2 separate regions of the Homo sapiens genome follow, and region 1 is linked to region 2. The links are contacts of gene promoters, found by promoter capture Hi-C in human tissues and cell types (Jung and others, 2019). All regions are on one chromosome and are shown on one strand. Each heading gives the region's core, a stretch centred on a gene start or on the middle of the fragment in contact. The rest is flanking DNA. Distances are from core to core; before and after follow the strand shown.

Region 1 (3,774 bases), core at 373-2,872, 500 kb after region 2:
GAGGAAATAAACATTTTCACTAAGTTAATTTAGACACATGGGGCTACTGTATAGCACGAATGGACATAAGAATTTATGTTAAAATTGAAACTGACAAAATTCAAAAACCAGGCTGTTTTTAATCTTTAACTGTAAAATTGTTAAGGAGATATAGTATCCAAGACAAAGTTGAATGTTGGAATTGTAAACAGGCTATGAACATATGTTGCAAATAAATGAGCTATGAGAATAGAAAAAAAATATGTAGTTCAATAAAGACACTAGAGTGAAAAAAAAAGATATGTGTATATATAAGCATATGCTTGGCAAAGTGAGCTAGCTGATCACATTGGCTTCCTCAGGATTTAGGCGCAAAGCTAGGCTGCATTTTCTAGCCTCACTTGCAGTTAAATGTGACCCAAAGAAATGTTAGTTGAAGCGACATTATTGTTTCCATTCAAGGTGACTGCAGTGGAAATGGCTCCCAAGATATGTGGAGTCACATGGTAAATGTGACAGACATAAAATGGGAGACTGCATCCTGGGAGGACACCCTTTCAAGGAGCAATGCCATTCTTGAGCTCTTACATAAGCAGAAATATTAACACTCATTGTCTTACACTACTGAGACTGGGCATATGTCTGCTACAGTACCTAGTGTTACCTTAACTCAGTGGTTCTCAAGCTTCAGCATACATCAAAATCACCCGGAGAGCTTGTGAAAATATGTTAAAAGGCCTGGCCCCACCCCAGAGTTTCTGATTCAAGAACTCTAGAGCGACCCAAATGTTTGCATTTCTAACAAGTTCCCGGAACTGCTGCTTTCGTACAATACTTCAGGAACTTCTTCTTTAACTCGTATAATATGCTTAAGGTAAATATGTTATTATTTTAAACTTACTATTAGAACTTTGAGGTATAAAAGAATTTCTTCTCCTTCTTTTTATGACCCCTCCCCACAGTTATTTTGGTAAAACTCATTAAAAAATAATTGAACTAGTGTCAAAAATAGGTAAAATACTTCAGAAATCCAGAACCGATCTTAATTTTCTTACTTCTGCTCTTCATCTAATCAACAGTTATTCCTTTTTTAAGCCAAATTATACTTCTTCAAAGCACATTAATGAAGAATTATAATTATAAAGTGCTTTGTAAATTCCTAATTGGATAAAAGTTTTCATGATTTCTGTTATGTTTTCCTTGACAACCTACACCCTGGTCATGTCCTGGTTCCTCTAACTCACCCTAAACTTAGGTGAACCTTTTTTAGCATCCACTTTCCTCCTTCCCTTTGATTGTTTTCTCTTTCAACTCCAAGGCCCTTTAAATCTTGTCTGTGCTCTCCTGGGCTTTTGTAAATGACAGTGAACCCAGCTACTGCCTTTCAGAACCTTCAAACCCCACAGAAACTAAAATTTCCAGTCATCGCTTGAGTTCTTGTTTCTTGCTCTCTCAGAACTTCTTCTACCAGCCCATAAATATTTGAACACAATGAAATCATTTAAGGATTCAAAATATTTGGTTTGTCACTTTCTTTAGGAGGTTTCAAAAGAAGCGATGTTTTCAACTAAACTATAGAAACAGCAAGAAAGGTATGTATTTCTTTTCCTCAAAGATACTCTGCTACAGGTGATGAAACTAAATTCTAAGAATAGACCCAAATCATTTAGTTAAAAAAAAGTACTAATAAGTCTCTCTAGCAACCTATATGTATATATAATATGTATTTAAATATAGAAACTATTACTGTAAACAGAAGTGCCAAATTTCTCTAAAGAAAATTATTGAAAATCAGCCATCTCCTCTGTAAAAGAGGGTCATTAGAGTACTAAATCATAAAGCTTTGTAATAATTGAGAAAAAGTTATAAATTAGTGTCTGACAGATTGCACTCAAGAATGTTGGCTACCACTACTATTATTACTTTGGACTCCTAAATGGGGATTGTAAGGAACAGCGACCACTACTGAAGATTAACAATGACCATGGCTCTCCTTTACTCTGGAAATCATTGGCTCAATCTTTTGGGTTACTGATGATGTGATCTTCTTTAATGTAGGGGACTCAGGCTTTACAAATCTGAAGGTTGATGAATTCAAGTCTGTCAGACATTCAAAAAATAGAAAAATGATTTCAGAAATAGCAAAAAAGGGCATTTGCCTAAAAATGTAAGAGCTAACTGGTAGTTGGAATTATTTAAGCAGAAAAATTTTGAAAAGGAGTCTTCATTCCACAAGTTTGCTTAAAGTTTAACAAAAGATGTATGAATAGCAGCAGAGACTTTTTTTTTTTTTTTTTTTGGAGCTGGCATTAGGAAGGAATAGATAGACGAGAAGAAAGCATGAGCGGCCCAAAAGGGAGTATGGACACCTGGAACCCCTAGGCAGGAAAAGTGAACCAAGAGTGGGCTGGAGAAAATTTTTTTTTGTGATGGTAGTTGTCTTTTTTTTTTTGCATTGGTTTTTCCTACATGGCTATGAACTTGGATCTCTGTAATGGCAAGATTCCATAAGGCTTTGGCTTCTAAAAGCCCAGCAACATTATTATTAAACATTTTCTACAGACACTTTCAGTCTCTAAATTGGTTTTTTGTTGTTTTTGGGTTTTTCTGTTTTTTTGTTTTTTTGTTTTTTGAGACGGAGTTTCACTCTTGTTGCCAGGCTGGAGTGCAATGGTGTGATCTTGGCTCACTGCAACTTCTGCCTCCCAGGTTCAGGCGATTCTCCTGCCTCAGCCTCACAAGTAGCTGGGATTACAAGCTTGTGCCACCATGCCTGGCTAGTTTTTGTATTTTTAGTAGAGACAGAGTTTTGCCATGTTGGGCAGGCTGGTCCCGAACTCCTGAACTCAGGTGATCCAACCACCTTGGCCTCCCAAAGTGCTGGGATTACAGGCGTGAGCCACCGCTCCCGGCCTCTAAACTGGTTTTGAAGAATGCATTAATTTGTGCGTAGGATAACAAAGATAACCTCATAGAACAAAGAAGTGTGAAGAAACTGTGGTGAAAAAACTAGTTGTCTAACATTAGACCTTAGTTACATTAGCATATAGGCAAAAGTAGACAACCATTTTAAATCTAGGTGATTTTTTAATGTAAAATTGCATTATCACTTTTATTTCCTATATTTAATTGGAATAAAACTAAACACTTCAATTAAATATTTTCCTTAATTTAATAATGAAAATATTAAGCAAACTTTTAAGAACACACAATTAGAGAAGATAATACAATTTAGAGGGAAAAAGAATAAAGAATTTATAAATCAATACATAAAAGGAAGCCAAGAATGAGGCCAATCCTTTGGGTATATGCCCAGTAATGGGATGGCTGGGTCAAATGGTATTTCTAGTTCTAGGTCCTTGAGGGGGTCTGGGGGAGAGGGATAGCACTGGGAGAAATACCTAATGTAGATGACGGGTTGATGGGCGCAGCAAACCATCATGGCACATGTATACCTATGTAACAAGCCTGCACATTCTGCACATGTAGCCCAGAACTTAAACTACAATTTAAAAAAAAAAAAAATGAGGCTAGTCAATATGCATACCATAAATAACTGTATATACTACTTTAACAGAGGCACAAATTTGGAAAGATTATAACTGATTTTTATGAGAATTCAAATGTGATACTGTGTAAAAAAACTACTTTAAATTCTGTATAGCACTATAGAAGTGCCTCTTAGTTTTTAATAAAATAGTGCAGAATTATTCAATAAATCCATTATTTCATTTTCTTTCCCAACATATCTATGATCAATACTTGCATACTTGAATACTTTTCTAGCTTCTACTC
Region 2 (3,875 bases), core at 957-3,456:
TGGATAAACTTTCATCCAAGCAAATTAAATGCAATTATGTCAGCTTTCTGAATATATTTACCTTTCTATATCCATATGGTTAATGTGTACCTGTCTGTATAATTATATACATTATATCCCCAAACATACATGAGGTGAGGCTTAAAAGCAATTTGTATTTGATTAACTCTGTTTCATTAAATTAATACTGATTAATTTTACATAGGTGTGAAATAGTTTGGTGTCTTTTTTTTTCTCTTGCAGTTTACTTAAAGGTTGTTTTCCACAAAAATACTGACTAACAGCTACATTCTTGTGCATAATTAATTCAGTAATATCCATATCTACATAGTTCATAACCATTCTATCTGGAAAATATAATTTATCATGACAATGTGGGAATTTTAATACTATTTTTCTAGTTATTGTCAATATTTTAATATCTGCAAAGAACAAAAATTTTTAAAACATTAAGTTTAATTTATTGATATGTTACCTATTATACATGTTACCCGTTATACAAATGAATACTCTTACCTTTCATTCAGGAAGAATGATTGACTCTTACTTTCAAATAAACATTTTAATTTGGTTTGTAAAATAAAAAGTCATTTGTGGGTAAGATAATTTTCTTGATCCTTATATTTTAGAATTTTCATTTTCTTATTTAGAAAAAAGATTCAGAACATTTAATGAAAACTGCCAAATTGATAAAGGCAGTCAGTAAGGAAGGAGATAAATTACTGCTCTATTAGCAGTGAAAGTAGGTCACCGAGTATCAGGCAGTTATTACATTTAATAAAAAACTTTCTAAGTATTTTGTTTTTACTCGTGTTTTTAAAATTAAGGTACATATACAACAGTATTGGCTTGACAATATATTTTCTAAGGAGTGATGTATATAACATGATGTTTGCACATCAGTTGCTCGGTATTGTTAACTTGCAAAATAAATTGCTAAATGTTACTGTTATAAGTTCAAAATCACTAAGAGGAAATTAATGTTGTAAGTGTGGCTTTACACTAATCAATTATTTAGAGAAGTTTGTTTTACGAGTTAGTGACTGTATTCACAAGAATAGATCACAAAAGGAATACAGGAGAAAGAAAATGTATGTATTAAGTACACAATCTTATAGAACACATTGGTGTCCTTAACATTAGGTTTGCACTTTAACCCACTGAAAAGGAATTAATGCTCATTACAAGGATAATAAATAACACAACATCAAGGAAATGCCATTTGCTGCATATGAACATTCTCTCTTAATCTACTATTCAGTTATTTACTATATCTTCCCAGGAGCTATCCACTATTCATTAAATACATTCTCCTATTTGTATATAAGCCTTTAAACAAAGAGAATCCAACCTAAGCTTATTGTAATTCTTGCAAATATTACTTACGTTAATGTGGCATATGCTGCTCTTTAGAACCTGTACCATAGAGCAAACCATTGCCTGGCGGGATACACACAACTTCAACACAGCCCTTGCACCATAAACACGCACCTCCGCTTCGACAAACTCTGATTTCCCTTTAGTCCATTCATAAATGCCATGATCCCAAGTAGGAACAACCTGTCATTACCTTTAAACATACTAAAGAGTCTAGAGAGGAAGGCTGAATTTTCTTTCAAACTTCTCGGAGTACCACATGGTCATAATTAGAAAATAAAATACTGCCTTGGCTATTTGGCAATTAACATAACTGGGTTGCAACGCTGGAGGATTTTCTTTCTTTCTTTCTGCTCAAATTGGCAAACAAGGTAATTGCTCGAAATGGTGTCAGATTAAAAACACATTTTCAAAGTTTAGACCATCTAAAATTATCTCCTGAAGTGTTTTAGAAGACAGTTGGAAAAAAAAAAGGCACATCTTTCCTTCACTCTCAGAGCAAACTGCTCTATTCGGAGGCACCTTCCCGACGTGCAAGGCTTCGGTGAGAACGTGCTTTGAAGAGCGTGAGCCCCGCGGGGCAGAGCTCCGTGCGTCGCGGTACCTGGCTTACCTTCATTGGAAGGCTGCGGAATCAGTTCCCCGAAGCTGTCGAGAACAGAGCAGCTGAGAAGGAGGAGGATGGAGAGCTGACAATCCATGTTGCTGGTGCAGAGGGCAGTGAGAGGAGCATATCTCCATGAAGCATGCCACTGATGTGAGGGGGAGCGCTCTGATTGCTGGAGAAGTTACCATGCTCCGCTCGCAGGCTGATGTCAAGTTTGACACTGGAGATAAGGAGGAGTCTGGCTGCCTTTCCGCGAACCCCGCTCGGGGACTTCCCTGGGTCCTAGTGCCGTCTTCAGCGTGCGCTGAAGCAGAGCGGGATGGCACGCAGCTGGCTCTGCAGCCCAGAGCTGCTCGGGAAGGAGACCGGGTGGGAGTGGGGGCGTCGCCCATGGGACAGGAAACACAGAAGATGTGATGAGGCCGCGGTGCTGAGAAAAATGCTCCCTCTTTTGTGTTGCATGAAAAGTAGCTGTTTTATTGTTTGCTATCCATGCTCTGTTGCTTAATTCACCGAAGAAATCACAGCCTTGATAGGAGTATCATATGGCAATGTGAGTGCAAAAGGAACTGAAATGCGAGAGAAACGTGTGTTTTGAAAGAATAGCAGTCTTTCGTTAAAAAGTCAATCATGTTTGTATAATTGAAAAAAATGATTATAGTTATTCCTTTACTGTGTTCAATGTGATCATAACTCTCCATGAGTTCTTTGTGATTCAGAAAGACACTAATACACAGCCTGAATCAGAGGGTCTCTGCATTTCCACACCCAATGGTATCGTGGCTTTTTACTAGATCTGGCACAGTGATTTTCCGCGCACATAGAGCATACTTTGTTTTTTTTCAAACAGGGAAGTTGACCTTCATCATCTTACGGAAGGGAGCAAGTCTAACCCCAGCCGGAGGTCTACATTCTTTTCTCGTTCTGTGTTGTAAAAGTAATACAGATCAAACCTAAATTTCTTAATAATACATATCCCCCTCCCTCACCATCTCACATTAGGATCTCTGGGTTCTGCAAGAGAAACAATGCATAATTCACAGCTCCTCCATTCAACTTTCAACCACTGATAGTCTAATAATATTGGGGTATTCTTATTCTTTAACATTCCAAATCCAAAAGCTAAATAATAATGTCCTCGTACTTTCTCACTTATTTTACACCATGACTATCAATGGTCTCTGTTATTTCCAATCCCATTGCTGAACAACCTATTGCAATCTAGTTCAGCCAAACAATTTTGTAATTTATATTTTAATAACCAGCATCACTTATCTTTAAAATATCTCCCAGAAAATGGTTACTCAGATATCCTTCCGCCCATCTATCTCTTCTTATACTAAAAAGAAAACAAGATTATTATATTCCTCTCACAACTTCAGAAAATAAAGGTATGTTGATAATCTTAAGATCAGTGATCAATTTTAGAGCTCTTGATAATGAAACTTAAATGAAAGTTTGAAAAGCCCTTGCTAATAATGTATTCAGTCCACAAACTCAATGTTTTTAGTTAGAGAACACAATTTTCACTTGAATTTAAGTTAATGGTGCCAGATAATAGTTTGATGACTGGGGTGGGGAATTGGGGTGGATAGAAGCAGCCAGGGGAAAAGAGAGATCCTTCTCACTTTTCTGTGTATGCCATGTTACTTTGTGTCTCTAACTTCTTTCCACATTGTGTCACCAGAGGCTGCGCAATCCTCAAGTGCCAAGTCTGTCAGAATTGAAAATAATAGCAGATACTGCCCAGAGAACTTAGACAGTGGTGACTCTGGTGTTTTTTCAAAGTTCCAGCACAACACTTACATTGTTCCAAAGTTAGATACACGTTTTCTGAAACTTGAAAGAAACTAAAATCTTATTTGGAATTGACAATTTGAAAACATTTTGG

Evidence for each region. The method cuts DNA at HindIII sites, captures the fragments that hold promoters and counts their contacts. A contact is called where the count stands out against the background at its distance.
Region 1: a contact is called between a fragment that was not itself captured here and the fragment with the promoter of EPHA3 in region 2, in 1 of the 25 tissues and cell types used here (dorsolateral prefrontal cortex).

What each region holds. Positions count from the first base shown.
Region 1 is chr3:88,607,945-88,611,718 of GRCh38, reverse strand. No RefSeq gene overlaps it. Among named protein-coding and RNA genes, the nearest start is that of CSNK2A2IP, 270 kb to the right of the region's middle. The HindIII fragment of the contact is 4,868 bases long and covers 1-3,774 here.
Region 2 is chr3:89,105,952-89,109,826 of GRCh38, reverse strand. EPHA3 (EPH receptor A3) reads right to left here and starts at 2,206. Exons shown (of 17, transcript NM_005233.6): 1 at 1,991-2,206. The coding sequence starts at 2,078. RefSeq lists an enhancer at 2,225-2,364. The HindIII fragment of the contact is 4,313 bases long and covers 641-3,875 here.